Linked DNA regions of Homo sapiens: region 1 is linked to region 2. The links are contacts of gene promoters, found by promoter capture Hi-C in human tissues and cell types (Jung and others, 2019). All regions are on one chromosome and are shown on one strand. Each heading gives the region's core, a stretch centred on a gene start or on the middle of the fragment in contact. The rest is flanking DNA. Distances are from core to core; before and after follow the strand shown. Region 1 overlaps SEC16A (SEC16 homolog A, endoplasmic reticulum export factor). Region 2 holds the start of EGFL7 (EGF like domain multiple 7).

Region 1 (7,313 bases), core at 928-3,427, 210 kb after region 2:
TACAGCCTGCCCACGGTGCGCCTGGCGGCCGGGAGGGTTTGGGCAGGAGGCACGCTTCCCAGAGCGCCATCCTCTTAATTCACCACACATGCAAATAGCCTCCTGATACAAACAGCCGAGTGTCTACAGTGCACACGGCATGATGGGTGTCTGTGTATTTGTGCCTTCAGATAATAGGATAATAGCCCACCCAGGTCAGCATGGGGACACAGCCCGGCCCCCAGAGGTCGCCTCTGGCCACTACCTGTCAGACCCACCCGCAAGGGACCAGACGGCAGCCGCTGCTTTGTCACTGTGGTGTGTGCCTGCTGCCGGCTCACAGATCCTTTCTCCCAGCCGTGGACTTTGGGACTGCTTTCAGTGTGGGGCTGGGATCCGTCAGGCCCCAGGAGCCTCCTTGCCTATCTATTGGCGAATGCGCTTGTTTTTCTTAGGTGCGTGCCAAGGAGCTGAGGGTTTAGCTCGCAGGATGAGCGTGTGTTCAGCTTTAGGAGACACTGCTGAGCAGTTGTCCTAAATGGTTGGTTGCCCCAAGTCACACATCCTGCAGCAGAGGACAAGGGCCCTGGATATCCCTCATCTTCACCAATACTGGGCAGTGCCGGTTCTTTAACTTAGCCATTGTGCTGGGGCTGATGACATCTCATTGTGTCTTCCTCTGCATCTCCACAGCGAGGTGTGACGCTGGGCACCTTCTCGTGTCCCTGTTACCATCTCACCACTCTTTTGGGGCAGTGCTTGTTCAAGTCTCTATCCGTTGTTTTTTTTTTCCCCCATAAAGATGGGGTCTCACTATTGCCCAGGCTGGTCTCAAACTCCTGGGCCCAAGTGATCCTCCTGCCTCGTAGCTGGGACTGCAGGTGTAGCCACCACACCTGGCTTTCCTTTCCATTTTTAATGGTGTTCTCTTCAGGACTTGCAGGAGTCCTTTCTGTATTATGGATATAAGTCCTCTGTTAGGTGTATTTATTGTGATATCTTCTCCCAATCTGTAGATTGCCTTTTTACTTGTAATGGTTTTTTGTTTGTTTGTTTGTTTGTTTGTTTTGAGACAGGGTCTCACTCTGTCAGCCAGGCTGGAGTGCATTGGCATGATCTTGGCTCACTGCAACCTCCGCCTCCCAGGTTCAAGCAATTCTCCTGCCTCAGCCTCTCCAGTAGCTGGGATTACAGGTGCCCACCCCACTCCCAGCTAATTTTTTGTATTTTTAGTAGAGATGGGGTTTCACCATGTTGGCCAGGCTGGTCTCAAACTCCTGACCTCAAGTGATCTGCCTGCCTTGGCCTCCCAAAGTACTGGGATTACAGGTGTGAGCCACCATGCCCGGCCTAGTAATGGTATTTTATGAAAAATATCATTCTTCATTTTAATAAAGTTCAGTGATCAGATTTTTCTTTTATGGCTGCTGTCTTGAAAATAAACACACATTTAATTCCAAATTTGTGTGAGCTCTGAGATAAAACATGATACTTGAGCAGGTTTCCAGTGCATAGGCTATCACAGGCCTCCCCGGGACAGCTTGTCTGGCCAGTAGAACTCACAGAGAAACAGAATTGAGGGTGTGTAGTAGCTGCTGAGGCTTCTCCTCTTTCTTCAGTAGAAGTGAAGTGCATCAGGCCGGGCATGGCGGCTCACACCTGTCACCCCAGCACTCTGGGAGGCCGGGCGCAGCAGCTCCTGCCTGTCACCCCAGCATTCTGGGAGTCAGGGTGCGGCGGCTCACGCCTGTCACCCCAGCACTCTGGGATGCTGAGGCGAGCAGATCATGAGGTCAGGAGTTCACGATCAGCGTGGCCAAGATGGTGAAACCCCATCTCTACTAAAAATACAAAAATTAGCCATGCATGGTGGTGGGTGCCTGTAATCCCAGCTACTCAGGAGGTTGAGGCATAGAACTACTTGAACCCGGGAGGCAGAGGTTGCAGTGCGCCGAGATCGCGCCATTGCACTCCAGCCTGGGGGACAGAGCGAGACTCTGTCTCAGAAAACTAACAAACCAAAATGAAGTGCATCATGTGAAGAATAAAGTAAAGTTTCCTAATAACCGAATTCTCCACACATGGGAAACACAGAGGGCTGTATCTGCCTCCGACACACACTGACTTGGACAGCCCGCCTTCCACTTCTCAAAGGGGAGGACGTCGGAAGCTTTGTCAGTGTTTAGACGTAAAAAGTTCCTGAAGGCACGTTACTGTTCTGACCTATTTAAATGACAGTAAAATACACAGAACAAAATGCACATTTTTACCATTTTCTGAGTGCACAGTTCTGTGGCACCAAGTACATTCACACTGTTGTGTTGCCATCACCACCATCCATCTCCAGAACTGTCTCACCTTCCCAAACAGAAACTCTGTCTCCTTGAAACGAAACAACTCCCGGTTCCCTCCCACCTCCATCCTCCTGGTGTCTCTGGATCTGCTTCCCACCTCCATCCTCCTGGTGTCTCTGTGGATCTGCTCCCCACCTCCATCCTCCTGGTGTCTCTGTGGATCTGCCCCCCACCTCCATCCTCCTGGTGTCTCTGTGGATCTGCCCCCGACCTCCATTCTCCTGGTGTCTCTGGATCTGCTCCCCACCTCCATCCTCCTGGTGTCTCTGTGGATCTGCTCCCCACCTCCATCCTCCTGGTGTGTCTGGATCTGCTCCCCACCTCCATCCTGGTGTCTCTATGGATCTGCTCCCCACCTCCATCCTCCTGGCGTCTCTGTGGATCTGCTCCCACCTCCATCCTCCTGGTGTCTCTGTGGATCTGCCCCCCACCTCCATCCTCCTGGTGTCTCTGTGGATCTGCTCCCACCTCCATCCTCCTGGTGTCTCTGTGGATCGCCCCCCACCTCCATCCTCCTGGTGTCTCTGTGGATCGCCCCCCACCTCCATCCTCCTGGTGTCTCTGTGGATCTGCTCCCCACCTCCATCCTCCTGGTGTCTCTGTGGATCTGCTCCCACCTCCATTCTCCTGGTGTCTCTGTGGATCTGGCGACTCTGGGGCCTCACAGAAGTGGGTCATGTAGAATTTGTCTTTTTGCCCTGGCTTATTTCATGGAACATAATGTTTTCAAAGTTGTTCTCGTGTTTTTTATATTTAGGGTGAATCCTGGTTCTTTCGTTGGCTACCTGGAAAGAAAAAGACAGAAGCTTATTTGCCAGATGACAAGAACAAATCGGTGAGTGCTGTCAAATACGCACGGGACGTCCGAAGAATTGTAATGATTTTTCTGTCACTTTCAGAGCAGACCTGAGTAGGTGTTTCCTGAAGTTTTGAAGTGTCATCATTAATCAGATGCTAATTCTGTTTAGGTTCAGTCTGCTGACCTTTTTTCTTTTTAAAATCTTGGCAGATTGTTTGGGATGAAAAGAAAAACCAGTGGGTGAATTTAAATGAGCCAGAAGAGGAGGTAAATTGTCATTCTAGTTCCTGTTGGGTGTGAGGTGTGAGTGGAGGGAACAGCCTCATGTGGCCCTGTGATATTTGGGTGGCTGTTGCCCCTTTTGGAGCCTCCTGACTGTGCCATCCCAGTGGGTTTCTGTGCACACAGTGGGTGTCTGAAGCTGTGTTTCCCTCTGCAGAAGAAAGCCCCGCCCCCACCTCCAACCTCGATGCCCAAGACTGTGCAAGCTGCCCCGCCTGCCCTCCCAGGGCCTCCTGGAGCCCCCGTGAACATGTACTCTAGAAGAGCAGGTAAGGGTGGCCTTGGAGTGGGAGCTTGCTTGAACGATTAACTGTCCCAGAGAGAGAGGCCAATGTGTAGCTGTTGTGCGTGGGGAGGAGGTGGCTTCCCGCACGTCCCTGCGTGCTTTTCCTCTGACGCAGTGAGCGCAGAGCATTTGGAAGCTGGAGGCCACCTGGCGCGTTCACCTCAATTTGCTTCCCTCCCCTTTGCAGCAGGAACCAGAGCTCGCTACGTTGACGTCCTGAACCCAAGCGGGACCCAGCGGAGCGAGCCGGCTCTCGCTCCTGCGGACTTTGTCGCTCCACTCGCGCCACTCCCAATTCCTTCTAACTTGTTCGTGCCAACCCCAGGTAGGTAGCACGAGCACCAGCCCCTCCAGGTCAGCCCCCAGTCTCCTGACCTTTGATCCTCTTTCTATGAGTCTCTCCTAAATCTCCCGTTAAAAGAATGACCTGGCCAGCATGCAGAGAGCCTGGGGTTGGTTTGTGGTTTTTTTTTTGATTTGCCTGTTTCTGCATGAGTGTGCCGCGTGTGCAGTGTGAAACTCTCTTCCTCTCGGAGTGTCTTCAGTGAGACCCCAGGGACGTTCGGGACGGAATGATGGCCTCCTCGCTCTCTCATCCCCAGATGCAGAAGAACCACAGCTTCCAGACGGGACTGGCAGGGAAGGGCCTGCAGCAGCTAGGGGCCTGGCCAATCCAGAGCCTGCCCCAGAGCCCAAGGTGAGCGGGTACGGTGGGAAAGGGGAAAGGTACCCAGTGAGGAGGCACCTCCCCATCCTGCCAGACAGGGCCTTGCCTTCTGCAAGTCAGTATCCAATGTGTACGTAGAGTGTTCCGCCTTAAACGCCTCACACTTATGTATGGTAGAGACGGAAGGTAGAATGCAGGGTGCCGGGCGGGACAGAGCTGTTTGGGAAGACGGAGATCTGGGGATAGTGGCGGTGATGGTTGCTCAGCACGGTGAATGTGCTTAAAACTTAAAAATGATTAAAGTGGCAAATTTTACAGTATGTATATTTTACAATTTTTAAAATTGGAAAAAGTAAAATTAATTACTCTAAGTTACAGAGAAATTACCTACCGATAATAAAAGTTAAGTATATTTTCATCCAAAAAAAAAAAACAAAAAACAAATGACTCCCATGTGAAGTAGAACAGCTCAGACCAGTCGGGAGTGGTGGATGATGCCTGTAATCCCAGCTCTTTGGGAGGCTGAGCTGGGCGGGTCACCTGAGGTCAGGAGTTCGAGACCAGCCTGGCCAACATGGTGAAACCCCATCTCTACTAAAAAAAAAACAAAATTTACCTGGGTGTGGTGGCGGGTGCCTGTAATCCCAGCTACTCAGAAGGCTGAGGCAGAAGAATCGCTTGGACCCAGGAGGCAGAGGTTGCAGTGAGCTGAGATTGCGCCATTGCACTCCATCCCGGGCAACAGAGCCAGACTCCATCTCAAAAAAAAAAAAAAAAAAACCAGCTCAGACTGCACTCTGTACGGTGGGACAGGCCTGGGCCTAATCCTGTTCTCCATTCATCAGCTGTGTAAAGCATGGGGCAGTCACTCACCTGTCTAAGCCTCAGTTTTCCCCTCTGTAAAATGGGAATAACAGTAGCCCCAGATTGCAAGCCTGTCATGGGCACACACAGGCACCTGGTAGAGAGCTGCAGGGGTCTAGAGTCAACAGGGTTGTGCGGCTGGACCCACGTGTGAGGCACTTTTCACTTCTCTCTGAGGAGCACTTTACGTGGAAGAGGGCGTTTGTAACCCAGGCCAGAACAGTTTCATATTTTTTGGCCTGGTGTGAGAGACTTAAATTCCCTGGGATTTGGTTGCTGCAATTCTTCTTTTCCTCGGCAGGTTTTAAGCTCTGCAGCGTCACTCCCTGGCTCTGAACTCCCCTCCTCCAGGCCTGAGGGTTCCCAGGGAGGAGAGGTAAGGAGTGCCGACGCCAGGGCCCCCCGCAGCCCAGGCCTCCCCAGCAGCTCACTGTCCAGGCGCCTCTTCCTTTATGGAGGGGCGGTACTGGGTAGGAAGAGGCAGTTTAGAAACAAGAGCACCTCGAAGGTGGTGTTCCTGGGGGAAAAAAAATTGCACTTGTTTTAACAAAACTGTTTGGGAGCTCCAGGAGGGGTGCAGGGGGTTTGAGTTGTCGCCTCAGTCCCGGTCCTCTCCCTTCAACAGCACGGGAATTGTCTTGAATTGTGAGGTGTCAGGAGGTGAAGCTGGCTTAGGCCGAGGCTGGACTTTTCCTCCCAGCCCTCCCCTAAGCTAATGGTTGTTTCGGGATAACAGCTTTACATTAAGACAGGAATCTTAAGCTAACACTGGCTTTTTTTTCCCTTTTGAGTTATGTTGATTCTAATGGCATCACAAAGCTTTTGAAATGGAACTGACAGCTTGGATTGGACAGTGACGTGCATGTTGACTTTCGTCCGTGTTTTATGTGTGTTCTTGCTGTTTTGTAGCTTTCGCGCTGTAGTTCAATGAGTTCATTATCACGTGAAGTGAGCCAGCATTTTAATCAGGTACCTGCGGCTGGTGGTCCTCACTAACATGAGAGCTGGCGTGTGCCGCCTGTGTTCCTGAGCACGCGGTGCCGGTTCGCCACGTGCGCTTTGCCACTAACCTCGCCCGTTGTCTCCCTCAGCGTCACGTGACCAAGGGTACAGGGTTCCTTTTTTTTTTTTTTTTTTTTTTGAGACGGAGTTTCGCTCTTGTTGCCCAGGCTGGAATGCAATGGTGTGATCTCAGCTCACCGCCACCTCCACCTCCTGGGTTCAAGCCATCCTCCTGTCTCGGCCTTCCTGAGTAGCTGGGATTACAGGCATGAGCCACCACGCCCAGCTAATTTTGTATTTTTAGTAGAGACGGGGTTTCTCCATGTTGGTCAGGCTGGTCCCAACCTCAGGTGATCCGCCCGCCTCAGCCTCCCAAAGTGCTGAGATTACAGCAGTGTTCCTTTAAATGGCCTTAAAGGGGGTTTTGCTGTTCAGTCTCCACATACATGGGGCAACTGGATCGACCCTGAGGTGTCCTAGTCAATGAGTGGGTTCTGTCATTTTGCTCTTTCCAAATTGGTTTTTCCAATGACGGGCCTGGGTCGTGGCCTCGCCGAGTGAGTGTTTCCCCGGTCAGGATGCTCTCCTTTGGAAGGAAGATTGCTCCTTTCTGATCAAGCATGAGAACGTTGGTTTGAGGCCGGGGCGGGTGCAGCAGTGACCTGCGGCCAATGTGGGAGGGAGGTGAACGAACGCTTCATCTTCTGCCTGTCCAGGCACCAGCTGCAGCCGTGGCTCAGCAGAAAGGCTTGCAGCGACCCTTCCGCCTGCAAATGAGAGCCCTGGGCCTCGTGTCATGGCTGGAGCCTTAGAGCTGCAGCCGTGGGCACCTCCTCACCACCTCGCACGCTCGGTGCCACCTCAGTGCTGTGTGCACCTTCCCATTGCATGTTCCGGTGCTTAAAACATTGGCTCTGCACGTTGCTTTGATTTTCACCATTTTTCTCTGAACCATTAAATAACTAAATCCAGTGTTGCAAGAAGTGTCTTGGATCTGCTTCTGTAGCTTATGTAAAAGTACTGTAAATCCCACCCAGAAGCGGTGTCTGTATCTGCACTTGAAGTGACAGCTGCTGTGCA
Region 2 (6,504 bases), core at 2,406-4,905:
TGAAAGTCATGTTTTCCCGAGGCCAGAGGAAGCCCGTGGTGCTCTCCGAGCCGGTGCTGCAAGCCCCATTTCCCCGGGGGGGGCCACGGCCTCGACCCAGGGGTGCCGGGCGGGGAGGGGGCGGCGGCGCCAGGTGGACCAGCAGTCCGGTCCCCGTGCCCCCAGCGCCCACGGGCTCCCTCCCCACCTGCCCGGCAGCAGCCCCGCAGCCCCCACCCGCGAGAGGCCGGGTCCGCAGAGGGAGGGGCCTGGCTGCGCCGCAGGCACTGGCGGACCCCTCGCGGCGGGAGCAGGGCTGGGGACCGCGGGGCCCACGAGGGAGGGCGCAGAGGCGGAGCGAGACGGACCTGCCCGCCGCCCCCTCCCAGCCGCGCTGCTGGCTCCGGGGTTCGCGGGGGGCGGAGCAGGCGGCACAGGCTGGGCCCCGAGGCGCTGAGTCGCGCCGGGTCGGACGAGGGGCCGCGGCGACCCCGGCCCTCCCCGCCGCGCCGCCCGCCCGCCCGCCGCCGGCAGGGGGAGCCGGTTCCCGGGGCCGCTGGGCCCATTCTCCCGGCCCGGCCCGACCCAGCCGCGGGCGCCCCGGCCCGCTCCGCCCCCGGCCCCAGCGGTCGCGCTGCCTCGTCCCGGAGCCGCCCCCAGCTCCGCGCGCGGCCAGGTTCCCCGCCCCCGGGGGCTCCGCGGGTCCCGCCCTCGACCCAGCCCGGGCGGCGACCGGACCCCGACCCCGGCGCGCCCCGCTCGCTCCGCACTCACCGCCGGATCCGGGGCGCGCACGCGCCGCCGCCACTGCCGCCCGAGCCCGCGCCGTGGGGGCCCCGAGCCCCGCCCCGCCCCGCCCCCGGCCCCGCCCCACCTGGCGGCCCCGCCCCGCCCCCATTGCGCAGACGGGGAAACTGAGGCCCCGCGGCGGACGAGCTGCCCCCGGGCGGGCAGTGACTCTGCTGGAACCCGGGGCTGACGCAAACGCGCCTCTGAGCCGCGGCCCGCCAGCACCCCCTCCGGGAATCCTGGGGCCCGAGTCCCCGCGGCAGGGCGCTCGCTGCGCGGTCGCTGGGGACGCACGACCAAGCCCGGCCGCCAGGAGCCAGGAGAGGCCGCCCAGGGCGCCCACACTGACGGGGCTGCGGGCCCTTTGCTAGCTTTCAAGCCCCCCAGGCTGAAAACCACCCCGGGACGCCCATCTCAGCCGCTGGGGGGCCGCGCGGTAGGCGCCCGGCGCAGGTTAGCACTGAGCTGGGTCCTGCAGCCTCGCAGGCAGTGGGCATCATGACCGTCCCCACCGCAGGCCCAGAGACCCAGATCTCCTCTGAGACCACATGGCAGAGCCCAGGCCTGCCTCCTAGCCTTAGCGTGTTAGGTTGGGGGCCCCTGCGCCGGCCCCCACCTGGCCCTCTCTCAGGCATCAGGCACCCTCACCGGGGTCACTGGGTCACTGCTGAGTTCAGCACAGTCAGGGCCATCGCAGAACACTCCTCCCAGCGAATCCACAGGCCCCCAGAGAGTCTCCTCACACCAGAGGTCCCTGGGCTGGTCACCTCTCTTCTCCAGGCCTCCATTTCCAAATTTATAAGATGGGGCTAAACAGCCCTGGGATCTAGTGACGGTGAGGTCGTGGCCACACAACAATTGTTACAGCTGTTACTGCGGGCGCGGCACGTGGGGCTCGGGCCAGCCCAATTCAGCAGCCCCTCAGACCCCAGCCGGAGCCAGCGCCCTGTGTCATAACCCGCGTGGGCGCCGGTGTGAGAAGTGTTCCCTCGGAGCAAGGGGTTTGCTGGGACTCACCTGGCGGAGGAGAATCAGTCATCCCCCGGACAGGGGCAGGAGCTGCTCCTCCGGGTGGTGGGGGCCACCTGTGCCTCCCCGGTCCTGGGGGCTGCTGGTTGGAGAGGAGTTGTGGGTTAGTGCCTATGCACAGTCCTGGTCACCCTGATGTCTGGGGGCTGGGAAGGGGCCCGGGACCAGCTTTCGGTGCTGCTGTGGGACCTCCGCCTGCACTAGGCCTACAGGCCCCTGTCCTGCACCTACCCCGACCCCATCCTGTCCTGAGCTGATTGTCCTCTCGGATCCGCAGCCCCTGGCCTCAGTAAAATGGGGTTATTGCCTCCAGCCCTGGACTCCCTGGCATGGGGATGGGAGGCTGCTGTGAGTGGAGCTGGAGGTCTCTCCATGTAACCCAGGGTGCTGGGCAAGGGGCCTGCAGATGGGTCCGAGAGGGCCACCAGCTTGGTCCTACCTTGGTGCATGGGAGCTGGAGGAAGGGAGGGGCCCAGGTCCCTGGAGAGGAGTCCCCAAAATGAGGCCGCCCCACCCTGCAATCCAGTGGCCACTGCTCTGGACCAGGGGCCCTGGAAGCCCCTGGCACGTGGTCCAAGGGACGACCAGAGCAGCTGCTGTCAGGGGGCGTTCCTCATCTGACTGGGGAGTCCTAGGCCTCCTGGCGCCCTGAGCCCACGCAGGGCAGCTCTTACCTAGCCCCCAGCAGTGAAGTGTTCAGAGTGGGGCCTAGGGGGCCTCTGGGTGGGAGAGCCACCGCCACCCTCCCTGTCCCCTGCCCCTGGCCTCATCTCTGGATCTGCGGTCACTTAACCCTTTGACCTGCCTCCCCACCTCTCCTGCCTGAGTCTGGAAGAGGCGATGGAGCAGAAAGGGCAGCTCCAGGGCTGCCCCGACTCAGCCCTCGCTGCCCCCATCCTGGCTAGGCACCATTTGGAAAGTGGGGGTTCTCAGACAGGCTTCTTGGTGTGGACGTATGAGACAAAAAGTGGGGCCTTCTAGGACCCACTGTGGTTTTGGGGGCTTTGGGATGGGGCTTCAGCCACTCTGCATGAGGCTGGGGAGAGGGAGAACAAGGGCGTCTCCAGGGTCCAAGGGGGGCCCACAGAGTCACCCATTTGCCCACCGCACCCAGCAAGTCATCCCTAAGCCCGAGCCCCACGTCCCGCACCCTGGATTCACACTGCTCATCCTGGCTACAGATGTGGCTTTGGGGTTCCTCTCCCTCGGGGCCAGTTCCCCTCCCCGGGCCCCCGTTGGGTTGCTCATCCACTGCTAGGGAGAAGATGAGGAGACCTCAGCCCTCGGGACACCGCAGGGCGTAGCGCGAAGCCCCTCACAGCGGGCCCAGCCAAGCTGAACTTTGCTGCCAACCACAGGGGCTGCTCTGCGGAGGGAGAGAAAGGCCAGAGGGTGGGGTTCAGGGGAAGGGCGACTGGGGGTGAAGTGTTGGAGTCAGCAGACTGGATTGGGATCTACGCTGGGCCACCCACTAGCAGGCGTTTGGCCAAGGGGCCTCAGTGGCCTCCTCTGTGCAGAAGGGGAGGAGACTGGGACCCCTCCCCTGTGACCTCGCTGGGGAGCAGATTGCGGAGCAGCCAGCAGGCGCCACGGTCAGCGGGAGTGAGGGGAATGGGGGGCCCGCCCTGTCCGCTCCCTGCCCCTCCGAGGCCACCCCTGCCATACCTGATGCTGCTGGAGCCCAGGCGTGGCCATGGTGGCCGCTGCTGTGTCCTGGGACTGGAGATGGACCCTAGCCCTTGCTGGGGCCTCAGGCCCACTGGCCGCCTGGAGGCACCTCCTGAGGCCCACCTGCCTGGCCTGTCCACAGGAGCCTCCCTTGCAGCCGTGCAGGGCCAGCTTGGTGCAGGGAGGCTCCCCCCGGGCGAGGAAGGGCGGCTTTTTATGCTCCGTCCTGGGTAATCGGGATTGGGATGGGCCCTTCCCAGCCGGACTTCCTGTGTGTGTTCTCCGCTGATAACGGGGACGTGTCGTCGGACAAACAGGAGGCTGAGGGGGGTGGGGGCCACCGTGTGAGGGGGCCTGGACAAACTGCCCAGGGGTGGGGAAGCCGTCCCCTGGGCCATCAGAGTCTAGCCCCAAAACAGCCAGAAACCAGGGCTGGACCCTGCTGGAGACCCTGGGGAGAGTGTGGGGTGGAGGACGCAAGCCCAGGGCCCTCCCAGGACCGTGGGTTCACAGGCCATGCTCACGTGTGGCTGGACAGAAGGGAGCTGCTGCATCTTTGGGCCAAGGATGCTGGGCCCTCCCCCAGGACACCCCCAGATGTGTGTGACACAGCACGGGAGCTTGGAGGGGCCCCAGGCCAAGGCAGGGACCAGCCACACAGGAGCCTTGACCAGTGAGGGATGGCGAGTGGCGAGGCCCGGCAGGAAGGGACTGGGGTGGCAAGACAGGCTGAGCGGTCCGAGAACAGCCTGTTCCGTGGGTCCCTGAGGCCCATGGTGAGGGGGTGACGGGAGGGGACAAGCATGGAGTCCAAGCTCTCTCCCCTAAAAGAGCTGCCAGTGAGGCTGTGAGCCCCTGCCCTGGAGATGGGCAAGCAGGCCCAATGCCCTCAGCCCCACTTCACAGGGGTGCTCTGGGCTGGCAGCAGGCTGCGGCCGGGGGTGTGGGGAGGGATGCGGGACACTGTGGGTGATCACAGGGGGTGCTCTGTCAGATTCCCGGCGTCCCAGCCTCCAGGTCTGACCCTCATCTTCCCTGTTCACACGGCAGTGGGAGCCTCAGGCCGAGCGAGCCACTGTGGCAAAGGTGGGCTGGGTGGGAGGGGACACGGTGCCGAAGGGAGCTGGGTGGCTTTGGAGGGCACGCCTGGAACCCCAGGAGAGCAGGGCCTCTCCCAACCCCGCTGTCCGTGGGGTGTGAGCCCTGCTTTGGGGTCAGCCCCTGTCGGCCTGATGCCTGGGACACCCCCATTTCCCTGGCCCTGGGCGGTCAGTGTGCCCCCACCTCTCCAGCCCCACTCAGCTGGGCAACTTGAGCCAAGGGAGGCTGGGGCAGCTGGGGAAATTCCCCACGGGACTTTGGAGGGCAGGTGGAAACCTCACCCACACGCGATGCGCCTCCCCCTCAAGCAGGAACCAGCTCCCCTCTACCCACGGCCAGGGGAAGGGTCTGCTCTGGGCGCCAGGCTGTGGTCAGGGCTCAGGGCCTCAGCCAGGCAGGACCTCACTCTTCTCCGGGCCTGTTTCTGCACCTGCTTCATGGTCACTGAGCTGGTTTAAGGGGGCGCTCCTGGCACCCAGGCACCGCTGGTCTGAGCGGGAGGGGCCTCTTTCCAGAGGTGGCCCCTGCCCTGAGGTTGGAGCAGATAGGCAGAACCCCATTTCCCCACCTCCTCCACACTAGGCCACCCTGGGATCTGGCCCTTACCCTACTGGCTGCACCCTCAGCCGCCCTGTGCCTCCCTCGGCCCCCTGGCTCTCCCACCCAGGGGCTCATCCTGCCCTGGCCAGCCTGTCCCTCCAGCTGTCAGGAGGGGGTTGCAGTGAAGAACAAGTTGGCAGCAGGCCGGGCCCAGTCCCCCAGGCTGTCACCCAGGAGTCCAGTGCCAGGAGGACAGCCTGGGGAGGACCCAGACTCTGCCCTCGCCCCTGGCTGTAAGCACAGCAGTCAGTTCACCGGGAAGGCCCCCAGCGGGCCAAGCCTTAGCAACTCGTGCACTCGGCTACTTAGCTACTCCACCGTATAGGGGCCCAGTAGGCTTGTGCCCCCATCCCAGGAGGTGCCCTCTTGCCCTCTGCCTGCATCCCTGCGGCCTGCCCCCTCCTCCCCCACCTGCATGCCCCTGGATCTGCCCTGGCCTCCTGGTGGAAGGACCCACAAGCATGGGGTGGGCTAGATCCAGCCCTTTCTGTGTACAGAGGGGGAAACTGAGGCCCAGAGGGAGAAGTGACCGGCCCAGGTGAGCCTGGAGGCCGGACAGGGCTGGGATGCTCGGCACAGGAGGCTGCCTCACCCTTCCTTCCTCTTCTTGGGGAGCCCCATGTCCCCCACCCCAGCTTGTCCTATGTCCCAACCTGGAGCAGCCCCTGTCATCAGACCTATCCGGCCAGGGGACAGCTCGGGGCAGGAATAGCTAAGTAGCCGAGTGCACGAGTTGCTAAGGCTTGGCCCGCTGGGGGCCTTCCCGGTGAACTGACTGCTGTGCTTACAGGCAAGGGGCGAGGGCAGAGTCTGCGTCCTCCCCAGGCTGTCCTCCTGGCACTGGACTCCTGGGTGACAGCCTGGGGGGCTGGGCACCGCCTGCTGCCAACTTGTTCTTCACTGCAACCCCCTCCTGATAAGCTCTGCCCTGCCCCCAGCCCCTCCCCAGGCCAAGACTAGACCCTCCCCAAGGGAAGGAGGCCTGGGCTCAGGCCCAGAGTGCCAGCTTTGCCCTATCCCATAGCCTGGAGCCACCACAGGAGGGGCACTCCACTCTCTTGGGCTCCTGGAGCCTCAGAGGCAGGTACAGGAGGTGGGCTGCGGCCTTGCCCTAATGTCGGGGGCCCAGCGGGGACAGGAGGGGCGGGGGGTTGGCAGGGGACAGACATGGGTTCTTGGACGCCAGAGGGTACTGGGGGTCCAGGGGGTTGGGGCTGCCCCCGGGTTCTGGTATGGGTGGAGCACACTCTGTGCCCAAGGCCCAGGGGCTCAGCAAGGGGCAGGCGGGCCCCTCCCTCACCCTCCGGTCCTTGGAGGTGCCCCCTTCCCTGCCCTGGC

The links. The method cuts DNA at HindIII sites, captures the fragments that hold promoters and counts their contacts. A contact is called where the count stands out against the background at its distance.
Region 1: a contact is called between a fragment that was not itself captured here and the fragment with the promoter of EGFL7 in region 2, in 1 of the 25 tissues and cell types used here (dorsolateral prefrontal cortex).

The regions. Positions count from the first base shown.
Region 1 is chr9:136,443,939-136,451,251 of GRCh38, reverse strand. It overlaps SEC16A (SEC16 homolog A, endoplasmic reticulum export factor), which reads left to right. Exons shown (of 32, transcript NM_014866.2): 24 at 3,091-3,168; 25 at 3,343-3,399; 26 at 3,572-3,683; 27 at 3,888-4,025; 28 at 4,303-4,397; 29 at 5,533-5,607; 30 at 6,141-6,200. Among named protein-coding and RNA genes, the nearest start is that of INPP5E, 7.8 kb to the right of the region's middle. RefSeq lists an enhancer at 2,406-3,605. The HindIII fragment of the contact is 4,836 bases long and covers 1-4,595 here.
Region 2 is chr9:136,660,067-136,666,570 of GRCh38, reverse strand. EGFL7 (EGF like domain multiple 7) reads right to left here and starts at 3,655. Exons shown (of 11, transcript NM_016215.5): 1 at 3,463-3,655; 2 at 2,948-3,163; 3 at 1,786-1,879. LNCEGFL7OS (lncRNA EGFL7 opposite strand) reads left to right here and starts at 6,150. Exons shown (of 2, transcript NR_135132.1): 1 at 6,150-6,250. The HindIII fragment of the contact is 17,984 bases long and covers 1-6,504 here.